Regions from separate parts of the Homo sapiens genome. Here region 2 is linked to region 1. Evidence: promoter capture Hi-C in 16 types of primary human blood cells and fetal thymus (Javierre and others, 2016). All regions are on one chromosome and are shown on one strand. Each heading gives the region's core, a stretch centred on a gene start or on the middle of the fragment in contact. The rest is flanking DNA. Distances are from core to core; before and after follow the strand shown. Region 1 holds the start of CHRNA9 (cholinergic receptor nicotinic alpha 9 subunit). Region 2 overlaps APBB2 (amyloid beta precursor protein binding family B member 2).

What was found. Contacts are between HindIII fragments. The CHiCAGO score rates a contact against its expected background, and 5 or more counts as called.
Region 2: a fragment that was not itself captured here is called in contact with the fragment with the promoter of CHRNA9 in region 1 in 1 of 17 cell types (neutrophils); the score reaches 9.9 in neutrophils.

What each region holds. Positions count from the first base shown.
Region 1 is chr4:40,332,566-40,337,800 of GRCh38, reverse strand. CHRNA9 (cholinergic receptor nicotinic alpha 9 subunit) reads right to left here and starts at 2,468. Exons shown (of 5, transcript NM_017581.4): 1 at 2,270-2,468; 2 at 1,829-1,974; 3 at 437-591. The coding sequence starts at 2,333. The HindIII fragment of the contact is 7,151 bases long and covers 2,091-5,235 here.
Region 2 is chr4:40,865,123-40,870,357 of GRCh38, reverse strand. All of the region lies in intron 12 of APBB2 (amyloid beta precursor protein binding family B member 2), which reads left to right. LOC124900907 (small nucleolar RNA U13) reads left to right here and starts at 1,388; the gene lies at 1,388-1,494. The HindIII fragment of the contact is 725 bases long and covers 2,515-3,239 here.

The DNA of each region.
Region 1 (5,235 bases), core at 1,219-3,718:
GACTGCCAGCAAACCACCATTAGCTAGAAGAGAGGCCTGGTACAGATCCTCCCTCACAGCCCTCAGAGGAAACCACGCTGTCAACCCCTTCATCTCAGGCATCTCAACTCCAGAACTGTGAGATAACACATTTTTGTTAAGTCATCTAATCTGTGCTACTCTGTTATGGCAAAGTTAGCCCTAGCAAACTAATGCAGCCTCCACTTTCCCACCTGAAAAAGGGGCATGTAGATGGATGGTTTCTTTCCAGCTCTAAGCTTTTATGACATATTATTTCCTGATCTAAGATTCTATGTCTCTTATTTCAGTAAGTCCTAGGAACATGGATTAATATTTAATTTCATGCATGTTTTAAACATTCCTTTTTCATTATGTTTAAATTCTATGAAATCAACACGTTCATGCCTGAAAAGCCTCAGTTCTGAGCTGCACTTACTTGTTATATAAGACGATGTCTGGCCTCCACACGAGGTCACTGGGGATCCTGATGGAGTCTAGGCCATCGTACTGATCTCGGTCCCACGTGAGATAGGCATCGTGCCAGATTTGGCGGATCCACAAATAAGCAGTCAGAATTTGGTTTCTTTCATCCTACACAATGAATCCAGATGTCGCTTTACCTAGCAGACACTTGAAATGTTTTCCACTGATAGGACACTTGTTCTTCACAATAGGAATTTCACAAACACTCATCAAATTTCAATAAGTAAAGTGAGAGCTTTATTCTTTATTTATTCTATCCCCTTGATTGACTGCCAAGATCATATTTTTTTTCCTCCTAGATTTAGTGTTCAGAATGTAAAGTGGACAAATATTTTAGTATTGATATCTTTGCATAGATCAACTGCCTATATTTCCTGAAAATTGATCAATGAATGATGTACTTGAAAGCAAAAGTCAGGAAATAACAATGTGCAGAAGGAAAATCTTTCAAGTTTCATAACATTGTGTAATTAAACATAGATAAGCACTAATAAGCTATGCCATCTTAAAACACTACCTTTTTTAAAAAATTGAGATTGGCCGGGCGCGGTGGCTCATGCCTGTAATCCCAGCACTTTGGGAGGCCGAGGCGGGCGAATCATGAGGTCAGGAGATTGAGACCATCCTGACTAACACGGTAAAACCCTGTCTCTACTAAAAATACAAAAAAAAAATTAGCCGGGTGTGGTGGCGGGTGCCTGTAGTCTCAGCTACTCAGGAGGCTGAGGCAGGAGAATGGTGTGAACCCAGGAGGCAGAGCTTACAGTGAGCGGAGATCATGCCACTGCACTCCAGCCTGGGTGACAGCAAGACTCCGTCTCAAAAAAAAAATTAAGATCAAATTCACATTAAAACTCACCATTTTAATCATTTTCGAAGGGAACAATGCACCGGCTTCCAATATATTCACAACGTTGTGCAACCATCACCACTGCCTAATTCAAGATCATTTCTTCCCCCCGCAAAGAAACGCCGTAATCATTAAGAACTCACTGGCCGTTTTCCCCGTCCTCCCCACAGACCCCGGCAACCTCTATGCCGTTTTCTGTCTCTACGGATTTACCTCTTTTGGACATTTTATATAAATGGCTGCATACAGTATGTAACCCCATCTTTCTTTAGATTATCTAAGACTGTTACAGTTAATGACCAGGATTAGGTAACGTTTCTTGAAATTAATTAGTTTTGTAGAAAGCTTCCTTTTCCCGACATTCTCTTCTCCCACCAGCTTGCTTAAGGAGCTATCATTCCCTCTCAAATTCCCAGTTAAGACATTCTCTTCAGAAAGCATGGTTGTTTATCCTCTAAGAATCATTCCACAGAGTCAGCACCATGTGTTACTCACCATATCCTTAATCTGAGAGAGCGTAATCTGCAGGGTCACATTCAGGACTTTATCTGTATCTTCCACTGGACGAAGAGCATTAGAATAATCTTCAAAAAGGTCATTAAACAACTTCTGAGCATATTTTCCATCTGCCGTCTCTGCAGCTACTCAACAAGAGGGATCTGGATTAACATTCAGAGTGTTGTGTGTATTTCAAGACAAACAACACAAGACTGAGGTCTAAAATGGGGGATGGCCCAACACTGGCGAGGGACAAGCTTTGGGTGGATGGATGAGTTGTTTTTCTGGCATGCCCTACCAAGATCAGAGTCAGTAGGAAGCACAGAACACTTCCATGCGGTTGAATCATCTGTTTTGTCTTCCCTGTCCTGCCCCACCTCCCACCAAAGCAATAGCCCCAGATGAGACAAGATAGGTTACGTGTCACCAGCCTCTCACCTCTCAGTCTGGAAGCAGCAAAGTAGATCCAGCAAAAGGAGATGCAGGAATGGGACCAGTTCATCTTTTTCCTGAGCCTCTATAATAAAGTCTCAGTCAGGCAGCGTGGTCTTCCACTTCCCCCTATGAATACAAAGGATCTGGGCACAAGGAGCCCACACCGCTGCAGCCTTATGGCGGGAGAGCTCAGGCTTGCATTGCATGCAGGACCGAGATCCTGAGATCCAGGCCTGCCCTCCCTCCCCTCCGGTAATTTGAGACTGGCAGCTCCAGTGGCTGAGAAGCCGGGAACCCAGGGTGTGTTAGGTCCAACAGTGCTGTTGTGGGGGGCCATCTCAGTTGAGGGTCCCTAGCCACCCTCAGCAGAAACAACCAGACAGAAAAGGAGGTAGATGCAGGCAACAGGGGTATGCCTGACACCCCAGAGACTCCATCTAAGCAGAATGGGAGATTTCTACACCCACCATGAGCAGAGTCAGCCTGAGTCCAGGGACTAAGGGAAGCCTAAAAGACTGAGCCATGGGACGGCTGTCCAGAAAGACTCTACGTGCTTTTAGCAGCATTTGAAGAGGGAAAGAGACACGGTTCTATGATCTCCAGAATATATTGGCATTTTGGTTTTTTCTCTGCCTCAGCTTCTGATCCCTCCTGCAGCTGTCCCACTGGGCATGGATCTTGCATAGTAAATGTTTGTGAGTATATATGTGAGGGGGTGTGCTGGATGGGCGGATAATCACTCGCTTAAGAAGCAGCAACACTGTGAGTTGGATTTGGACTTGACCACCTGGGTTTGACTGCCAGCCAAACCCTGACGAGCTCTATTATTCTGTAAAAGTCACCTAACCTCTCTGAGCCTTCCAGAACTACAGACTGGGGAAAATAATATTTTCTCTCTCTAGAGCTACTGAGATAACTGTATGTGAAAGCACTTTCTAAATATCAGTAATTATCATCTTTGATCAGCTTTGCATACCCAGAATTTCTATACTCACCAAGTCACCCAGGATTTACCAGCTCGAAAAAAAAAAAGAAAAACTGGTTCAAAGGCTGACCAAATCAGCATGAGAATAATAACCAATGGTGATATTGCTAATGATGACACCCTTTGCATTTGAATGCTACTTCATATAAAGTTTCAGTCATTTCTCATATGTGATATAATTTTACTCCTATAAAAAAATGTCAATTTTCAATTGCTGCTTAGTCTGGAAACTCATGTCTGTCTCTCCTCTTGCCTGGGGAAACTGCTTTGGAAAACCATATTAAGATAATTTGGTTGCCTGGAATTGGAGCGAGGAAATTGGATAGCTCTGTTTCATCAGGTTACAGCCGCCTGATGAGTCACCCCATCCCTCTTCGGGAATGTATCCTCTGAGTGGAACAGACACTCAAGCCATCGGCAAAGTGTTTCTTAATTGCCTATCCCATTGTGTTGATTGTGAAGACATTATTTTTCTGACGCCCCTAGTCTGACTCATTCATCAAATGACACAATTCCGGGTGCCCACGCTCAGTCCTCCTTCAGCAAACCATCCGCTCCAGAATCTCAGAGGCAGAAGGTAATTTTGAAATTGAGTTTAATGCCTCACTTCTATATGAGGAAACTGAGGCCCAGGGATGCAGAGTGGCTTCCCTCCAGCAGTGATCGGCCAGAGACAGGATCCAGGCCACCTGCCCCAATCCACTGTGCTCCCTGCAACACTAACAATGCATCTCTTCCTTCTCGTTGTCTTTCATCAATATGGCTTTTGATGCCAGCTGGGTGGTGACTTCCTTGTGTGTAGAGGATCTTTACCTCATATGTCTTGGATTCCTTACAGCACTCACAGGGTTGAATTGTAGTTGACACAGGGCCTACCTTGAATGGTGTCCCTTCCCTTCCTATACCACTCCCCTCCCTTCAGGGTCCCTTCTCCCCTCAGGGGCCTCTTTTAGGTTGAAGCTGCTGAGAACCTTTGCCCATTGGGGTCCAGTGTCCTGGGGGGCATCCCTGACTCCATTCCAGGAGGATGATGGCAGTGCTCCCATTCCTTAGAATAGAGTCCTGTCTGACAAAGAATCCTAGTGAATTCTATGGCTAAAATATCCTCTGCCCAGCAGCAGAGTGGGGATGGGAAGAACAAATACCTTCATTCTGCTACATGTGTTTTTTAAAACAAAAATTACAAGAGTCAAACATCATGTTTTGCAAAGGATTTTTTCCCTGCAAATGAATATGGCATGAATATTTTCTCCATTTCATTAAGTACAGGATCAGAGCACTTCTAACCTGTAAAGAGCTCTTTGAGGACCATCTAGCTAAGGTCACTCATGTTACAGATAAAGAAACTGAGGACTAGAGAGGTCAGAAGCCTTCGCAAGGACATAACCCATCGTCCTGACTCAATACAGTGCTCCTTACACAACACCAGTTCATCTGGTGAGGAAGCTCAGAGGAAATCAAGGTCAAGTGTGCCTTTAGGAGGCTTGGGAATGCACTTCCTTTCAGCCAAGGGCAGGTGGGACTTCGATCTGCCCCACAGGAAGGTGGGTAAAGGATGCTGACTCTCCACCAAGAACCATGCCAGAGACCCTCAACCTCCCCAGGAGGCTGGGCTCTTCACAGAGGAGTGCTGTCCTAGGCACTCAGAGCCATGACGCATGCTAACCAATGCTTCACAACTCACTGAAATGGCAGGAGATACCTCAATGGGATGCCATCCCCAAGGACCTATTTCACTTCTACTTTCTAAATTTGCTGGATTTATCCTAGATATGTGTCTTGAAAAACAAACAAACAAAACAAACAAACAAAAAAACCCCCTCAAAGCTCCTTTAAAAGACAGCTACATGAATTCCTTCACCTTGCACCAGAGTTTAGGATAAGATTGGTAGTTAGGACGCAAAGTCATGCCAAAAGGGCTGCCCATGGCACCACTCTCCAAACATTTTAGGGTTTACTTCTGTCTTTGTTTTCTATTTCTTCT
Region 2 (5,235 bases), core at 1,628-4,127, 530 kb before region 1:
GGGCTTGGCACGGGTCCCTGTCCCCTGGTGAGCACTCAGAAGAGAATGTTGTCCCTCCCTCTGCGCTGCCCCTCACTCTGCCCTCCCTCATCTGCACTGGCAGTGGTGGGCACAGTGGGCTGGAGGCAGAGGAGGCTGCTTGTTGAGATTCCTGGAGCATTTCCTCCCATTTATTTTTCTTAGTGAAGTCAAAAACAGACAAATGTTTATTAAATAATGAATCATTCTTTCCTAGAAGGATTATTTCATTTCATGGGTGAGCGGTTTATTGCCAGAGAATGATGTCTTCCCCCAAAATGATGTATAACGTGATTTGGTACCTAAGTTTTTAGACACTTGAATGTTTTTTCTCTCTTCCATTTAAACTTGAAGGTTGTGAAATGTAGTCCATATTCATTCATACTCTGTTCATTTCAGGAGATACCCACAAGCAGAATGGGGTGACTGGGGCCTGCTTTGACCTCATATTTTCCTATTTCTACAGGAATATATAGAATATTTACTAAATACTAGGTATTTAGTAATAAATACCACAAGCCTTCCTAGGTAATAAGCCTGTTAAGAAAAGTAAGCAATTATATAATTGGCAAAGAAATTAATACAAAGATCTAAACCAAGAAATATCAAAGTCTTTTATTCTTAGAATTTTTTTCATTTCACGTATATTCCTTGTCTGCCTTCAGAATCTAAAATTCTGGCCCACTTTGTTTATAGAGCGGTCCCTTTAGACATTTGCCTTATTTTTAGGCCTCTTTTATTTTTTTTCTTTGGAGACAGGGTCTCACCCCTTCACCCAGGCTGGAGTACAGTGGCAGGATCATAGCTCACTGCAGCCTGGATCTCCTGGGCTTAAGTGATCCTCCCACCTCAGCCTCCAGAGTAGCTGGGATTACAGGCACATGCCACTTCGCCCAGTTAATTAAAAAAAAAAAATCATATTGATGGGGTCTTGCTATATTGCCCAGACTAGTCTCAAACTCCTGGCCTCAACTGATCCTCCTACCTCACTCAGCCTCCCAAAGTGCTGGGATTACAGTTGTGGGCCACTGTGCCCAGCCCATTTTAATCCTAGGGCTAGGATTATTTGCCATTACCACACACTGTTGATTATTATAGCTATATATGCAGCTTTAAAATTGGATACACTGATTCATTCTACTTTATTCTTCTGTTTACAGGCAGGTGCCTGTAATCCCAGCTACTCAGGAGTCTGAGGCAGGAGAATCACTTGAACCCGGGAGGTGGAGATTGCAGTGAGCCAAGATCTCACCACTGCACTCCAGCCTGGGCGACAGAGCAAGACTCTGTCTCAAAGAAGAAAAAAAAAATAGAAAGGTGGTGTGGGGACAAATCGAGGTAACACATGTATAAGAAATAAATATTATTGATCTTTTAGTAGTTCGTAAGCATGGTGATTGGCTTTTCATGTGCATGTGTGAAATGTGCCTTCCACAAACCTTGTTACAAAGTTGGCACACTACCATTGATGTGAAAGAAAAAAGTTATTAAAATAAGAGGTCCTTGATGGCAAAAATAATAAAATGGCTCTTTGGTGGTTAAAAGGACCAATTTGGTCCAATCTCAACTCTTTAAATAAAAAGGAATTTTGCTTGAGGTAAGTAATTTAGTTCCTTTGTGGAAAGTTCTTTGACTTCTAAGATGATTCAGAGTTTGGAATTACTGATTTAGTCTTCTGACTGTATCAGGAGTCTTTAAATATACATTTTCAATTCAATTAATAAGTCATGAGTTCAGTTAATTTATCATCAGTGCAATCAGAAACCATCAAAGTAGACTGAGTTGCCAGCCTTTACTTCTGGCTAATCCTGACACATTTCACATGTCATGGATTCCTGAAATTCTGAAGCTGAGATTGCTAATGGTTCAGATTGGTTACTGGATCATTGTGTTCCTAAAGAAAAATTATACAGCTCGCTTCAATGATGCAGTTTCCCCTCTTTTCCTCAAAAAATTTTCTATATGAGAGAAGAAAGCAGAATCTATGGTCCAGTAAAGCAGTGATGCTCAAATCCAAGTGCATGTCAGAATCCACTGTGGGTCTTTTTCAAACAAAGCTGGCTTTGCCCCAGCCTCAGTGGTTCTGATTAATTCAGTAGGTCTGGGGTGGAGCCTGAGAATTTGCATTTCTACTAAGTTCCCAAGTGACACTAATTCTGTCTGTGGACCATACTTTAAAAACCAGCTGGGTGTGGTGGCTCACCCTGTAATGCCAACACTTGGGGAGGCTGACATGGGAGGATTGCTTGAGGCCAGAATTTCAAGACCAGCCTGGGCAGCATAGCAAGACCCCATCTCTAAAAAAAAAAAATAGCCAGGCACGGTATACCTGTAGACCTAACTACTCAGGAGGCTGAAAATTTAGAGCCCCTTTCAAGACCCTAGGAGGAGGGCTAGCAATTAGATCACATGGTTTATATAAAATGATTTTGCAAAAGGAAGATAAATTTTGTATTCTTAAAAAAAAAAAAAAAAGCCCCAGAAATTGTCTAAGCTTTAGGTCCCACAAAACCTAGATCAGCTCCCTGATAATTGATCAATATAATTAACTAATATATATGAAAGGAATACAGACTGTAAGCAAGAGAAGTTTTTTGTAGGCTAAGCAGTCTCTAAGTCCCAGGAATGAGAGTACATGGGAACGTCATCTCAGAGAACAGGAGCCCCATATGTGAACTTTGTGTGGAACTTTAATTGAATGAGCTCAATGGAGAATTTAGGCGGATGAAAATTCAAGTTGATCTTCACTCACCTACTAAATGATCAGCTTGCTATGTGTGATGTATCAATTTATTTGTGACAAGATCAGACAATTTGGAGAATGAGACAGGTTCAAATTTTGGCTTCACCTCTTATAATTGAGTTCACTCATTCCCTCTGAGCCTATTTTGTTTACAAAAAGGGGGTTGATAATAATAATAGCTAATTTAATAGGGCTAATGGGGTGCTATAGTGAAATGATAGATATGAAAAATGCTCTGAAGATAGAAAATGCTGCACAGATGTTAGTAGCTATACAAAGCTAACAAATAGTATACTCATCGTTTATATTAATAGAATGACTAAAAGGTCATTCTGCTGGAGAAGGAGTCAGTCGACTTTTTCTGCAAAAGACCAGACAGTAAATAGGCTTTGTAGGTCATGCTGTGTCTGCCATGGTAGGCAAAAGCACCTACAGACACGATATAAATGAATGTGCATGGCTGTGTTCCAATAAAGCTTTTATTTGTAAAAGCAGGTACAAAAATGGTGATACACTAAAATTGATCTAAAAGGACACTGTCGGCCGTGCATGGTGGCTCATGCCTGTAATCTCAACATTTTGGGAGGCCGAGGCAGGCAGATCAGTTGAGGTCAGGAGTTCGAGACCAGCCTGACCAACATAGTGAAACCCCATCTCTGCACGGGAAACTGCACAGTTCAGTGCTTTTGTATTCTACTAAAAATACAAAAAATTAGCCAGGCATGGTGGCGCACACCTGTAATCCTAGCTACTCAGGAGGCTGAGGCAGGAGAATTGCTTGAACCTGGGAGGTGGAGGTTTCAGTGAGTAGAGATCGTACCACTGCACTCCAGCCTGGGTGACAGAGCGAGACTCTGTCTCAAAAATAAAATAAAATAATAAAAGGACACTATAAAATAATAAAAGTCCCTTCAAATTAGGAACTTCCAGTTGAATCCGAAGATAAAACAAATAACAGCAACCATATATGATGTTTTTATTTAAACTCAACACTGAAGGATCAAAATTATATCGGCCTCAGTTTCTGTGGCCTTCTAATGTAGCTGATATCTCTTTAGGGCATGAGGGCACATAGGTGGAATAGGAAAAGCAAAGTGAGGAGGAAGAGGGAGGCAAGATTAAGAACAGTTGAGGGTGAAAATAGCAGCTTGTTTCTTTTTATGCTTCTTGCCACTGGAAGTAACGATCATCGGGTAAGCTCCTGCTTAAACCCTCCTCTGGGATTCAGCCTCAACAGTAAGCTCCTGAGCATGGAGTTTCGTGACCACCAAGAAAGTAAAGTGCTTCTATTTTGTAATCTCCTAGTGAATTTTTAAAGATGACTGATGGTGTCCAGGCCTGTGAACATGGAAAACTGAGGTAAACCCATCAAGAGACAGTTGCCCATCCATCTTAAAAGGCAAGTTAATCATGAACCATGAATAAAGCCGCTGTAATCATTCACATACAGGTTTTTGTGTGAACAGAAGTGTTCACTCATCTTGGGTAAATACGTAAGAGTGGGATCACTGGGTTGTAGGGTGACAGCACGCTTAAGTTTATGAGAAACTGCCAGCCCGCTTTCTGAGGAGGTGCACCGTTTTGCATTCGCAACAGCAAAGTAAGAAAGTTCAGTTGCTCCGCATCCTCACCAGCAGTTGGCATTGCCAGGATTTTTTGGTTTGTTTGTTTGAGGGTGGTGGTGGTTATTTTAGCATTCTAAAATGTGTGAAGTGGTGATTCATTGTGGTTTTAATCGGCATTTTCCAAACAAATGATGTTCAGCATGTTTCATGTGCTTGTGAAAAACATTTATCTTCTTTGGTGACGTATCTGTTCAGATGTTATTGCCCATTTAAAAAATTGTGTTGTTTGTTTTCTTATTATCGACTTTATTCATAGTTGCCAAAACTGGAAAGAGTAAAATACCTATCAACTGGTAGATGGATACACAAACTCTTGTACATCCATGCAAAGGAATTCTCAGCAATAAAAAGGAATGCACTGTTGATACACTCAACAATTATGCTAAGTGAAGGAAGCAAGGTTCAGAAAGCTAGGTATTACAGGACCCCCTTTTTATGACATTTTGGAAAAGGCAAAACTGCAGGGACAGAAATCAGATCATTGGTGGACTGGCAGTGAGGGAAAATTCTTACTTATTTTTAAAGAACTTCTCTTGTCTTCACTCCTTAGCCCTTACTGTCTTACTCTCCTAACCCTACCTTCCCAGCCATGGGTTTAGTATCTGTTTCAGCTTGAGTTTCTGATGCAGAAACACAAATGTGATTTTCTCAAATTACAATCATGGAACTTGCCAGACAGCCAGCTTTTTCCTTGGCCCTCCGTGACTGTGTGTCCCTGTGCATGCAGTACCCCTGTCCTTGCAATTCTGCTTTCCAGGGAGAGCAAGCCAGGGCGTTGAGTGGGGAGATGGTTGAACATTTTAAGAATTGAAAGGACCAGGCGTGGTGGCTCACACCTGTAATTCCAGC